Linked DNA regions of Homo sapiens: regions 2, 3 and 4 are each linked to region 1. Evidence: promoter capture Hi-C in 16 types of primary human blood cells and fetal thymus (Javierre and others, 2016). All regions are on one chromosome and are shown on one strand. The core of a region is centred on a gene start or on the middle of the fragment in contact, and the rest is flanking DNA. Distances in the headings are between cores, read along the strand shown.

Evidence for each region. The method cuts DNA at HindIII sites, captures the fragments that hold promoters and counts their contacts. A CHiCAGO score of 5 or more calls a contact.
Region 2: a contact is called between a fragment that was not itself captured here and the fragment with the promoter of ETHE1 in region 1, in 1 of 17 cell types (monocytes). The highest score is 5.0, in monocytes.
Region 3: a fragment that was not itself captured here is called in contact with the fragment with the promoter of ETHE1 in region 1 in 5 of 17 cell types (activated CD4 T cells, total CD8 T cells, fetal thymus and 2 more); the score reaches 7.0 in activated CD4 T cells.
Region 4: a contact is called between the fragment with the promoter of IRGC here and the fragment with the promoter of ETHE1 in region 1, in 11 of 17 cell types (total B cells, monocytes, total CD4 T cells and 8 more). The highest score is 11.3, in total B cells.

What each region holds. Positions count from the first base shown.
Region 1 is chr19:43,525,951-43,529,079 of GRCh38, forward strand. It overlaps ETHE1 (ETHE1 persulfide dioxygenase), which reads right to left and starts at 1,251. Exons shown (of 7, transcript NM_014297.5): 1 at 1,147-1,251; 2 at 565-709; 3 at 251-399. The coding sequence starts at 1,227. RefSeq lists enhancers at 1-402, 403-907, 423-602 and a silencer at 1,213-1,402. The HindIII fragment of the contact is 10,435 bases long and covers 1-3,129 here.
Region 2 is chr19:43,765,241-43,768,369 of GRCh38, forward strand. KCNN4 (potassium calcium-activated channel subfamily N member 4) reads right to left here. Exons shown (of 9, transcript NM_002250.3): 8 at 2,300-2,467; 9 at 1,293-1,849. The coding sequence ends at 2,303. Among named protein-coding and RNA genes, the nearest start is that of SMG9, 12 kb to the left of the region's middle. RefSeq lists enhancers at 1-109, 540-629 and a silencer at 1,016-1,179. The HindIII fragment of the contact is 8,185 bases long and covers 1-3,129 here.
Region 3 is chr19:43,748,685-43,751,813 of GRCh38, forward strand. SMG9 (SMG9 nonsense mediated mRNA decay factor) reads right to left here. Exons shown (of 14, transcript NM_019108.4): 2 at 1,908-2,063. The coding sequence starts at 2,057. Among named protein-coding and RNA genes, the nearest start is that of SMG9, 4.7 kb to the right of the region's middle. The HindIII fragment of the contact is 8,040 bases long and covers 1-3,129 here.
Region 4 is chr19:43,714,556-43,717,684 of GRCh38, forward strand. IRGC (immunity related GTPase cinema) reads left to right here and starts at 1,521. Exons shown (of 2, transcript NM_019612.4): 1 at 1,521-1,587. RefSeq lists an enhancer at 1,494-1,994. The HindIII fragment of the contact is 15,065 bases long and covers 1-3,129 here.

The DNA of each region.
Region 1 (3,129 bases), core at 1-2,500:
AAGGAAACTCCTTAAATGCTGTTGACTTAGGAGTTCCGCCAGTGCCCCACCTGCCCAGAGCCTCTTGCCCCAGTGCCCCACCTGGGTTTATGGTGCCCCCCTCCCAGAAATATGAGCTCAGGGGTCAGAAACCCAGGTCCTGAGGTCCCTCCTCCCCAAGGACTCAGGATCCCAGGCCCCCAGTCCCCTCTTCCCTTAAGTTTAAGAAGTCCAGGCCACCACCCTCTTGGGGACCCAGCACCCAACTCACGAAGCGCCCGAAGCGGATGGAGTCTCCATCCTCAATGTGTAAGTCAGCCTGGGCCCCACTAAGGCGGGAGATGACAGACTGGCAGCCAGGGAGGAGGGAACGGAGCAGCCCCGAGCCTGTAATGTGGTCCGCGTGGCAGTGGGTATTCACTGGGAGAGAGAGGAGGGACAGGTCCGGAGGGTACAGAAAGGACCTGGGAGTCCCAGCCCAGATCCTTCTCCCTCAGACTCAGGAGTTCTGGGCCCCAGCTTCCCATTCCACTGACGCTGCAGCCCAGCCCCGCTGGGATCCATGAGTTTGGTCCCCGGACTGACCAGCATAGAGCAGCCGCAGCCCCAGCTCCTTGATCAGCTGGGCATCCCGAGGCGCTGTTTCCAGGACTGGGTCGATCAGAACGGCCTCCCGGGACTCTCTGTCACCCAGCAGGTACGTGAAGGTGCAGCTCACAGGCTCGAACATCTGGGAACGGGGGACCCAGGTGAGGGCGCAGAACCGGACTTCCACCCACTGGAGGCCAAGTAGTCCAGACTGACCCTATCCTCTTCCTAAGATCCAGAAGCAGAAACCCCAGCCCACTCTTTCCCCGGGAGTCGGGAGTCCGGAGCCCCACTACCTTCCCCTATCAGAACAAAAGAGTTCCAACTTCCTAACATCCCAAAATCAGGGTCCCCAGCACGTTCTTTCATAGAGGACCCAGGGGTCTGGCCCCAAGCCCAGAGGCCCCCAGACCACTCACCTTTAAAGGACCCAAGAGTCCAGCCCTAAACCTCCACCCCGCTTTCCGCAAGATGCAGGCGTGGGTCCCCCCGGATCTCTCCCTATTAAGAGACCCCGGAGTTCCGTCCTTGCTGCCGCCTAGTGCCCAGCAGTCCCCTCCTAGGTCCAGCCACCCGCACCTGCCGCAGGAGGATGGGGGCTCCAGACCCGCCGCGCTGGCTCAGCTGCCGCCGGGCGACCCTCAGTACAGCCTCCGCCATCGCGCCCACTGCGGGGTCAGGAATGAGCGGAGGCCGAGCGCCTGCAGGAGCCGGGCGCTACGGCACTGACCCCGGGAAGGGCGGGGCGGGGGCGGAGCACGCCTTAAAGGGGCCACGGACGCCTGGGGCAGAGGGCGGGGGACCGCCGAGCGGGACTGGGGCGAGGGCGAGACCGAGGAAAGCCAGAGTGCAATGCCTGGACGCTTTGAGACCCAGAAAAAACAGAGAACAGGGAGACACTCAAAGTGCGAGGGACAGACGCTCAGAGACACACAGACATACTCATGTAGGAACAGAGATAGGGAGAGAAGTAGAAACCCAGGGAGAGGCCCCAGTACACTCATAGCCTCGGGGCCGTTTTTTTTCCTTTTTCTTTTGTTTTATTTTGAGACAGAGTCTCGCTCTGTCACGCAGGCTTGAGTGCAGTGACTCGATCTCAGCTTACTACAGCCTTAAACTCCCGGGTTCAAGCGATCCTCCAACCTCAGCCTCCCGAGTAGCTGGGACTATGGCACGTTGCCACCACACCCGACATTTTATATATATATATTTATATCTATATATATATTTATATACATATATATATATACACACACACACACACATACATGTATATAAAATTTGTTTTTTGCAGAGACGGAGTTCTCACTATGTTGCCCAGGCTGATCTCGAACTCCTGAGCTCAAGCGTTCCTCCCACCTTGTCCTCCCAAAGTGCTGGGATTACAGACGTGAGCCACCGCGTCCCGTGGGGCCGTTTTCTAGCAGGTGGTAGGATAGTCATGGTTAGAAAAAGATGTTCGGTTCCGGGAGGCAGAGGTTGCAGTGAGTAGAGATGACGCCACTGCACTCCAGCCTGGGCGACAGAGGGAGACTCTGTCTCAAAAAAAAAAGATATTCGTTCGGTTCCAGGTCATTAATATCTTGAGGGACTTTTGAGTGGGTGCCTGGTTACCAGAACAACACTTGATCCCATTAAAGTTCATCCAGAAATTGCATAAGCATTTTATCAGGAATGTTTCTCTCTTTCCAGGAAGAAATCTTAAAAAAAAAAAAAAAGATAATTTTGCATTATCTCTTGAATAATCAGATTGGGGATTATTCATCTTCTGTTGGGGTGTGAACCTCTGAAAAGAGCTTGTGTTCATTTACACCAAGGACCTGGGGCTGAAAAACTGTAGTCTCAAGTCATGAGCTGTCAGAAAGTCTGCTCTTTGTAATCGTAGCAGTAGTGAGAATAGGACATCCCACTCTCATCTGGAGGATCTATGTCACTTTGTGACATCAGAGCAGCCTTGATTTCCAGCCTAGGGGCAGAGCTTTTTTTTTTTTTTTTAATTGTTAGAATTTTTTTTGTAGAAACAGGGGTCTTGCTATGTTGCCTAGGCTGGTCTCCAGCTCCTGGCCTCAAATGGTCCTCCCACCTGGGCCTCCCAAAATGCTGGGATTACAGGTATGAACCACTGAGTTATCCTGTCCCACAGCTTCTGAGGAGGGGTTTCCTGCAACAACATTTATCTTAATTCTGGAGTTTCCAGGGAATGGTCCCTGGAGCTATTTTCAGAGCAGCCCCTGTGTGAATGCCTTTACACAGAGAAGGCCTGCTTTTCCTTAAGCCTATCAAATTGCTTCATTAAAATTTTATGTGGCCGGCTGGGCGCGGTGGCTCATGCCTGTAATCCCAGCACTTTGGGAGGCTGAGGCGGGCGGATCACGAGGTCAGGAGTTCAAGACCAGCCTGACCAACATGGTGAAACACCATCTCTACTAAAAATATAAAAATTAGCTGGGTGTGGTGGTGCACACCTGTTATCCCAGCTACTCAGGAGGCTGAGGCAGGAGAATTGCCTGAACTCGGGAGGTGGAGGTTGCAGTGAGCTGAGATCGTGCCACTGCATTCCAG
Region 2 (3,129 bases), core at 184-2,683, 240 kb after region 1:
ATGAAGGGGCGAGGCTGGCTGTGGACTTTAAGGGAAATCCAAAGATAGCTCAACAGAAAAGGATGACTCGCAGCCTGATCTTCCCCTCAAGAGGAGGGAAGCAAGAATGAATCAGCCTCTCAAGCTGGAATGAAGTTGCGGCGGGAAGTCAGTCCTCGGTTTGTGGCCCAAGGCCACTCTGCCTCTGACTCACCTTGCAGTGGGGCGGGATGGGTGTGAATCTGGGCTCTCCAGCCCGTATTCCTAGCTTCCGGCTGGGGGCCTGAGGGGAGGCCTGGCTCCTCTTGAAACCTCGGTTTCTACATCTGTGCAGTGGGGTAACGAGGGTCAGGAGAGTGGTTATGGTGACTTATAAACAGAGCTGGGCACACAGTAGGGCCTCTGGAAGTGCCAGCCCCCCTCCTTTGCCCCCTTCCCTTTCACATCCTCTCTTGAGCGGATGTGAAACGGGTATGTGGGTGGTTTGGGGAGGTTTGGGGCCTCTGTTAGTCTCTTGATGAGTGAGTTGTCATCTAGATTCTGGTAAGGCATGAATAGAGGGAGAAAAGCAACAAAAAATCAGAAAAAGGGCAGCCACGCATTGTGTGTGAAAATCAAAAACAATAATAAAAATGATTCTTGGCCAGGGACAGTGGCTCACGCTTGTAATCCCAGCACTTTGGGAGGCTGAGGCGGGCAGATTGCTTGAGCCCAGGAGTTCAAGACCAGCATCTGCAACATAGTGAAACCCCATCTCTACTAAAAATACAAAAATTAGCCAGGCGTGGTGGCAGGTGCCTGTAATCCCAGCTACTTGGGGACTAAGGCAGGAGAATCGCTTGAACTCTGGAGGCGGAGGTTGCAGTGAGCCGAAATCGCGCCACTGTACTCCAGCCTGGGTGACAGAGCAAGACTCCATCTCAAAAAAAAAAAAAAAAGATTCTCTCTCACATATTTGGTTCCTACTAAATGCCTCTGGGCTACTCCATGTTTTAATCTTCACAGCAGTTCCATGGGGAGGCAGTCCCATTTCACAGGTGAGGTAAACTGTTCAGAGGTGAAGCCACTTACCCAAGATCACACCACCAGTGGATGGTAGAACCAGGATTTGGACCCTGATCTGTCTGAGTTCAAAGCTGTTGCTCTTTGCCTCAGATCTGGGCAGGGGACTGTTGCTGAGGACTGCCCAGCCTACAGAGTTGGGAGGGCACTTACAGGAGAAGGCCTCTGAGACAGGTTCAGACAAGGCAACAGTCTTCCACTGGACGGTCTGCCAGTTAGGAGTGTAGATATGTTTAGAGAGAAATGGCAACTTCTGGCTTTAACATTTATTACAAAGATAAGAGCAGAGGCTGGTGAGTTACACTTCTTCCTCCCCACCAGGTGCTCTCTGCAGCTCTGGAAAAATGGTGTCCTCTTTGTTGTCCCACCAGGGGGCGCCACCTCCAGCCCCGCCCCAGCCTCATACCCAGTTCTTCAGCTCGGCCAGCGGTAACTGAAGCCTCCCAGAATCCTGGATCCGGGCCCCTAGTACCCTCTTTCCCAGGGACCCAGGAGTCCTGCCTCCAGTCGCCTGCACTTGTAACTGAGAGCTGGAGGTCGTCCATAGCAGCATAGTGAGAGTGTTTTTGATGAGGGTATGCAGAGTGGGGGTGACCATGTTCCCACCTGGGGCCTCAGGTGGGCCAAGGCCTACCCACTTTAGCCAGCGTCCCCTCCAGCAGCCATCAGCAAGCCAACCCACTCCAAGCCAGGGCCCCCTTTGGTCCTTGCACTTGAGGTGCTTTGTTCAGGGCTGGGTCAGGAGTGGCAGAGACGATGTCCACCACCTCAGTACTGGGGAAAGTAGCCTGGTTCCTCCTCGTGGGTCCTGGAGAGACAGAGAGACTGATGGAGAGGCAGGCCAGGAAGAGGGAGAGTGAGAGTGGGACACACCGAGGTGCAGACAGAAACCGGTGGGCAGAAGTGGGAGACAGGGGGCAGGTGTTTCCGGGCCCCGAGGCCAGGGGGCAGGAGGGCATTTAGACAGAGACATTGGATGGACAGCCAGACAATGTGCCCAGGACAGGCAGAGAGAGAGAGAGAGACCAAGCAAAGAGGGAGAAGGCCATCAAGGGTCAGTGAAGGGGAGAGGGTACACCATCTTCCTTCACTGCCAGTCCAGCCCCGAACTGAGTCCTTTCCTCCAGACAGTGCCAGAGCTGATGAGAAAAGGCGGCCTTGTCTCCCAGCCATCCCCCGCCCCCTTAGCCACATAGGGTGCTGGCCACAGGAACCCTTCCTCCAGGATGCCTTCCTGCCCAAGTCCCAGCCCCCTCACCAGCTACTTGGACTGCTGGCTGGGTTCTGGAAGCTGCCTCGGCCCCAGGGCAGTGCTAAGCAGCTCAGTCAGGGCATCCAGCTTCCCCGCCAGCGTGTCAATCTGTTTCTCCAGGGCCCGGTGTGAGCTGCTCAGATTCTGCTGCAGGTCATACAGGATCATGTGCATCTGGGTGGGAGGAGAGGATCAGAGGTGTCGGGGCTGGGGTCGACCCCCACCTACTCCATAGCGTAAGGCAATGGAACCAATATTGACCACATCCTTATGGTCCTCTGAGGATTACCCTCGACAATAACTGTTACCATGTATTGACCACCTACCACTTCCCAGCTACCTGCCCAGGTGTTTCCCTATATGGTTTAAAATCCTCCCAAAAGCCACAGGGAGTGGGAATCCTGTTCCTGTCTTACAGCTGAGGAAACAGGCATGGAACAGTTAAATGACATGCCCAAAGCAGCTCCTGAAATAAGACCTAGAACATAGCAGGTGCTCATTAGATATTTCTAGCATGGATGATGCCTGACTTCCAAATCCACATAGTCTTTTACTGCATTCTCTGGCTAGGATTCACTAGTTGATCCCTGAGGGTTTGTGGATTTTCTATGGAAATTCTTGAATTCTGTGTTTTTGGCTTGATAACCTTCAGAAATTACCACCTGCCAATTCCTGCAGATCTGGGCCACTGCCTCGTCACTGAGACCTGCCATGCGGTTTTGGGGCCTGCATCTGTGACCGTGCTTACCATGGCATTGCTGCCAGGGGCCACTGTTTGAACTGTCGTGGGCTAACGAGAAAAAGCAAAGGCCACCAGATAAGCAGAAGATGCTGTG
Region 3 (3,129 bases), core at 384-2,883, 220 kb after region 1:
GTCTGCTGAAGAGGGGAGAAATCTGAGTCTGAGTCCCGTTCTTTCTCTGGTTCCTTGAGTAACCTCATGAGAGTCTTGACCCCTAACTGTGTCTGTTCCTTCACCAATATACTGAGGACACTTACTTAAACCCTGCTCACTTCACTGGCTTACGGTGAAGAACAAACAAAAAGACGAAGTGAAAGTGCTTCGAAAAGAAGTTTCAAGGGAAAAACTACAGGAGGAGAGGCTGTGGACTTCCAGGAGGCTAGGAAGGGGGAGATGATACAGGCTGAGTATCTCTTATCTCAGATGCCTGGGACCAGAAGTGTTCTGAATTTGGGATTTTTTTGAACTTTGGAATATTTGCATATTTACTGGTTGAGCACCCCAAATCCATTTGCAAGGCTCCAATAAACATTTCCCTTAAATGTCACGTTGGTGCTCAAAACATTTGGAATTTTGGAGCACTTCGGATATTCAGTCTATACCTGGGATGAACGCTGTGAGGGTAGAGAGAAGACACACAGATATAACCAGGCGGCAGAATGTAAAGCACTGGTGCCTGACTAGCACAGAGGAAGCAGGGGAGAGGCGAGAGAGGCATTCAGGATAAGGCCCAATGGGCTGTCACTGATATGGGAGAAAAAAATGGGAAGAGGAAAAATGGCAGAAAGATGCCGAGGTCAGCACGGGACACAGAGGATAAGAAGCCCATGGGTGTGACAAGAGGCTGCCAGGGCTCAGTAGCACATTTAGAGACAAAGATGAGGTTTAGGAGGTGCTTGTTCAAGGATTAAACCTGAAGGTGTGGCGGGATAACATTCCCCAGGAGGGCATTATGTGGAAGGAAGAGAGACTACGTGTTCTCATTTACACTGTGGCCCAAGAGAAGGAGCAAGTAAGAGCCCAGCTCACTGTGAAAAAACTATTCTTCATGTTTGTACAGTTTTATAGCTCAGAAGCTGGCCCCAGTTGTCACCTACTTCCACCCTACCTGACATCTCTGAGGTGGACAGGGCCCTAGAGAAAAAAGCCCAGGGGGCAGGTTCTGGCAGTGAGTCACCTAGGTACAGGAGGGGAGCGAGGCTGGGCCTGGGCACAAGCCGATCCCTCCTGATTCCCAGCCCAGGGCGCTCTCTACAGCAGGCAGAGCGATGCTATATGTGAGACTAAGCTGGACCTGGATCTGAGTCCTGGACCCAAAGTTTATTGACTCTGATTTTGGAAAAGTCCCTTCACCTCTGGGGCTCATTTTCCTCATTAGTGAAAATCAGATCTATCATAGAATCTACCTCATGGGGTAGCTGTAAGGGTTCAGGAAGACCCAAAGGATGTAAAAGACTTTGCACAGTGCAAGCACAGTATAGGCTGCTCAGTAAAAAGAGTAACAGTTGTTGTTATTATGACATGACCCTTTAAAACATGAGCTATGGCACCTCTCAGCTCAAACTCTCCAATGCCAATTTCACTCAGTGAAATACAAAGTTCTTTCCAAGGCCTACCAGGTCCTACATGATTTGGCCCCAGTTACTTGACTTCATCTCCTATCTCTCTCCCTCCTTCCTCATCAATTGCAGCCATCCTGGCCTCCTATGGCTACTCCTTGAACACGCCAGATATGGGCCACCTCAGGGCCTCTGCGCTTGCTGTTCTTTCTGTCTGGAATGCTCTTCATCTCAGATGCTGGCATGGCTTATTCTCTCATCTCCTTCAAGTCTCTGCTAAAAAGTCACCTCTTCAGAGAGACCTTCTCTGACCATGTTATCTAGAACAGTCTCCTTTATCACTCTCCACCTTCTTTATCCATGAGGGTGGTAGGTTTTGTTTACAAATATATCCCCGGCATCTGGATTAGTGCCTGGCACATGGCAGGTGCGTGGAACCAAATAGATACATGAATGCTGCTCCTGGGTCCAGACACTCACCCTTCTCTCTCTTTCCCATGGTGCAATGTAGTCCCTCTCCCGACCACCAGGCCCAGAGAGATTCTGGGGGCCACCAGAGCCAGGCTCCTTCCACCGTCGCCGCCGCTCTATCCCATAGAGTCCAGGCTGACTGTGTCCAGACTCAGACATGGTTACCTATGGAGGGAATGAGGGGATTTCAGGATGACAGAGTCTCTTCCTACTCTACTTGGCATATCCTAGACTATACGAAGTCCCTTCTTTCTTTTTTTTGGAGATGGAGTCTCTCTGTCGCCCAGGCTGGAGTACAGTGGCCTGATCTTGGCTCACTGCAACCTCTGCCTCCTGAGTTCAAGCAATTCTTCTGCCTCAGCCTCCCAAGTAGCTGGGATTACAGGCACCCACCACCATGCCTGGCTAATTTTTATATTTTTAGTAGAGATGGGGTTTCACCATGTTGGCCAGGCTGGTCTCGAACTCCTGACCTCAGGTGATGCACCTACCTTGGCCTCCCAAAGTGCTGGGATTACAGATGTGAGCCACTGTGCCCAACCAAGGCTCTTCCTTTCTTCTTTTTTTTGAGACAGAGTTTCGCTCTTGTCACCGAGGCTGGAGTGCAATGGCGTAATCTCGGCTCACTGCAGCCTCCACCTCACAGATTCAAGCAATTCTCCTGCCTCAGTCTCCTGAGAAGCTGGGATTACAGATGCCCACCACCACACCCGACTAATTTTTTTTGTATTTTTAGTAGAGATGGGGTTTCACCATGTTGGCCAGGCTGGTCTCAAACTCCTGACCTCAGGCAATCCACCTGCCTCAGCCTCCCAAAGGGCTGGGATTATAGGCGTGAGCCACCATGCCCGGCCAAGGCCCTTCCTTTCAACAGAGCTCTGGGCCTGTGGTAGCAACTGCAAGCTGGTTCCCAACATCCACTCCTGACTTCTTCCAAAAAAGTAAAACCCTCAGTTCTGAGCTAGGTACATGGCTATCCAGAACAAACTTCTCATCCTTGTTTGCAGTTAGGTGTGGCCATGTGAGTAAGTACTTTCTGGCTATGGTATGACACTAGAAGTGTGGCTTGGCAGCTTCCAGAAACTTCCCTTCACAGACTCTGGCACATGCCTTCTGCCCCTTCCTCCCAGTGACAGGAATGTGGGTGTGGAGGTTGGAGCTCAAGCAGCTATCCTGGGCTGTAAGGCAATTTAATGGAAGGTACAATAAAACAAGACACAAGGTTGGGGGG
Region 4 (3,129 bases), core at 271-2,770, 190 kb after region 1:
CCTCCTACCTCGGCCTCCCAAATTGCTGAGATTACAGGCGTGAGTGAGCCGCCATGCCCAGCCACGAAGTAACTCTGTATTTGAGGCTCTTTCTGTGTCTTTCCCTTCTCTCTTGGGCCAGGGGTGCGTGTCCATGCATTTTGGGAAGGAGTCCTTGCTGTCTGCTGGTCTGTGTGCTCGGTGTCCGGGGAAGTCTGAGAACCATGTTGTTCACTCTCTTCAGCTCTGTGTGTTTGTGTCAGTCAGTGAGAGCATGAGTGAGTCGTGTGTCTTTTGCCCTGCACCTCCCTTTCACCTGTGGCTTAAGAACTCTGTACTATGCGGCCAACAGCCCACTCTTCCCCAGCTCTCAGGGTGGCTCTGAGCTAGTCTATTCCCCTTCTGGGCCTCTCTCTCCTTAGTTGTTCTCAGAGGCTCCTTTCCAGAACTGGCCTGCAGATGGTCAGGAAAATCCTCTGAGTAGCGTTATTGTAAATTCCCTACAAGAGGAGAATGGAGAAGGCCCTGTGGAGCCTGGCCTGGGCAGAGAGGAAGCCCGGAGGGGAGACAGGACAGAGACACTTATAAAGGACAAGAAGGGGCCGGGTGTAGTGGCTACACCTGTAATCTTAGCGCTTTGGGAGGCGGCATAACCTGAGGTCAGGAGGTTTGGGAGGCGAGGCAGGCGGATAACCTGAGGTCAGGAGTTCAAGACCAGCCTAGGCAACATGGTGAAACCCCACCTCTACTAAAAAAAAAAAAAAAAAAAAAAAATTAGCCAAGCCTGGTGGTGCATGCTAGTAGTCCCAGCTACTCAGGAGGCTGAAGCAGGAGAATCACTTGAACCCAGGAGGCGGAGGTTGCAGTGAGCCAAGATTGTGTCACTGCACTCCAGCCTGGGTGACAGAGCAAGACACTGTTTCAAAAAAAGAAAAAAAAGAAATCAATGACTAAATTATTGGGCTTACAAGATAGCAGATCAGCCTCCCGAGTAGCTGGGACTACATGCATGCACCACATCTGGCTAATTTTTGTATTTTTAGTAGAGATGGAGTTTCACCACATTGCCCAGGCTGATCTCAAACTCCTGGCCTCAAGTGATGCACTCGCCTCGGCCTCCCAAAGTGCTGGCATTACAGGCGTGAGCCACTGTGCCCACCAGCAATGACCGAATTTGTATCATCAACTTTCACACTTCTCTGGGGAACTGACAGTCCCCTGGGTGGAGGGTGGAGTGGTAGCAGGGCCAAGCCCTTGGAAACCAATCTGTGAATCTGAGACTTTGTCCTTGGGGGGTGATGGAGACCATGGAGGATTTTGAACAGGTCTTGGTGTTAGAAAGATCTCTCTGGAGTCTTCAGGGGAACTGGAGGGCCCAGTGTGAGTGGGTGGTGACCCCATGAGCAGCTGGGGCTTGGGGTCCCTGCTCCACCTCCGGGCCCCACCCCCTGACATCACTGTCGCATTATTGCACCAGGTCTGGCTGACCAATAAGCTGCTGCTTGCTATGATAATGGGTCCTAGCAACGGTGTCTGACCTTGGCTAAGAGGGAAGGAGATCCTATCAGTGGGGAGAGTGTGAGGGGAGAGGGAGAGCCTGCAGGGCAGGTGAGTCCCCCAGGGCTCTCTCGCTGGGCCCCTGTGCGTGGGCGGAGCAGGAGCTTATGGTCTAATCCGGACCCCCTCAGCCCAAATTCCAACCACTGACTTGTCTGCCCCTTGCTGCCAGGACCTGTTCCAGGTTCCTACTCTTCCCACCGCAGACCATACTAGGGAGAGGGCACACCCAGGATAGGAGGCTCAGATCTGGAGGCAACAATGTCTTTTTTTTTTCCTTTTTTTTTTTCTGAGACGGAGTCTCGCTCTGTCGCCCAGGCTGGAGTGCAGTGGTGCAATCTTGGCTCACTGCAACCTCCGCCTCCTGGGTTCAAGAGCTGGGACTACAGGCATGCGCCACAACACCTGGCTAATTTTTGTATTTTTAGTGGAGATGGAGTTTCACCATGTTGGCCAGGCTGGTCTCGAACTCCTGACCTCAAGTGATCCACCCACCTCGGCCTCCCAAAGTGCTAGGATTACAGGCGTGAGCCACCATGCCCAGCCGGGAACAATGTCTTAAGGACATATTTCTGTGGGGGGTGGAGTGGGGTAGCAGAGGATGGGGTGAGTGGTAGGAGGTGAAGAGACGGGGTGCAGGGGGCAAGGAGACAATGCAGGAGGCAGGGACATGCAGCTGAAGGGAGAGTAGCTCTCTAGGTGGGTGAAGGAGCCTGGGGACCTGGGTTGGGGTCCTGGCTATGCCTCTGGATGAGGAGACCTCATTTGTCTTGTCTGAGCCTCAGTCCTTCTCCCTGTCAAATGGGGACAGTGATCCCAGACATGAGCAGCTCTCCCAGGGCACCCTGAAGACCCTTAGTGAGTAAATGTATTTTAGAGATGATGGGCCAGAGGAGGGTGAGTGGGAAGAGGGAGGACCAGGGAAGCTCCTGGTGAGGAGGAGGGATCTGAGGGGGGACCATCACGACAGGAGCTCTGGGCGGTGGGAGGGGAACTGAACCCCGGGAGGCAAGGGCTGCCATGGCAGGGGTGGGGTTTCATGGAAATGACTCCTGGTGTCCAGGTGGTCCCCATGTCTGGCTTCCCGAACCCAAGGGCGTCTGAACCCAAAGTCAGCCTAGGGCTAGCTGAACGGGGTTTGTGGGCATCACAGCAGCCCTGCGAGGTGGGGAGGAGTATCCCCCACGGGGCAGCTGAGGCTCAGACAGGGCGAGGACTTGCTCAAAGTCACACAGCTAAGAATATTACTAATGATAAGAATAATGACGATGATGGTGATGCCAATGACACGAGGCACCTGCCCTGAGCCAGGCGCCGTTTTATGGGCTGCTTTATGTCATAACTCATTCAAGTCACAGAGATCCTAGGAGGTGGTTTGCCAGGATTGTAGGTATCATTCTCAGTGTTCAGATGAGGAGAGTGAGGAGAGAGTTAAGTAACTTGCCTCACATCACTCAGTAAGTATGTGGTGGAGCCAGGATTTGATCCCAGGCAGTCTGGCTCCGGGTCTGGGTCCCCTCCACCCTACCCTCCAATCCCAGCCACCGCAGGAGTGCAGCTGTTTCCTCTGAATGGGCCTGTACCACCCTTTCC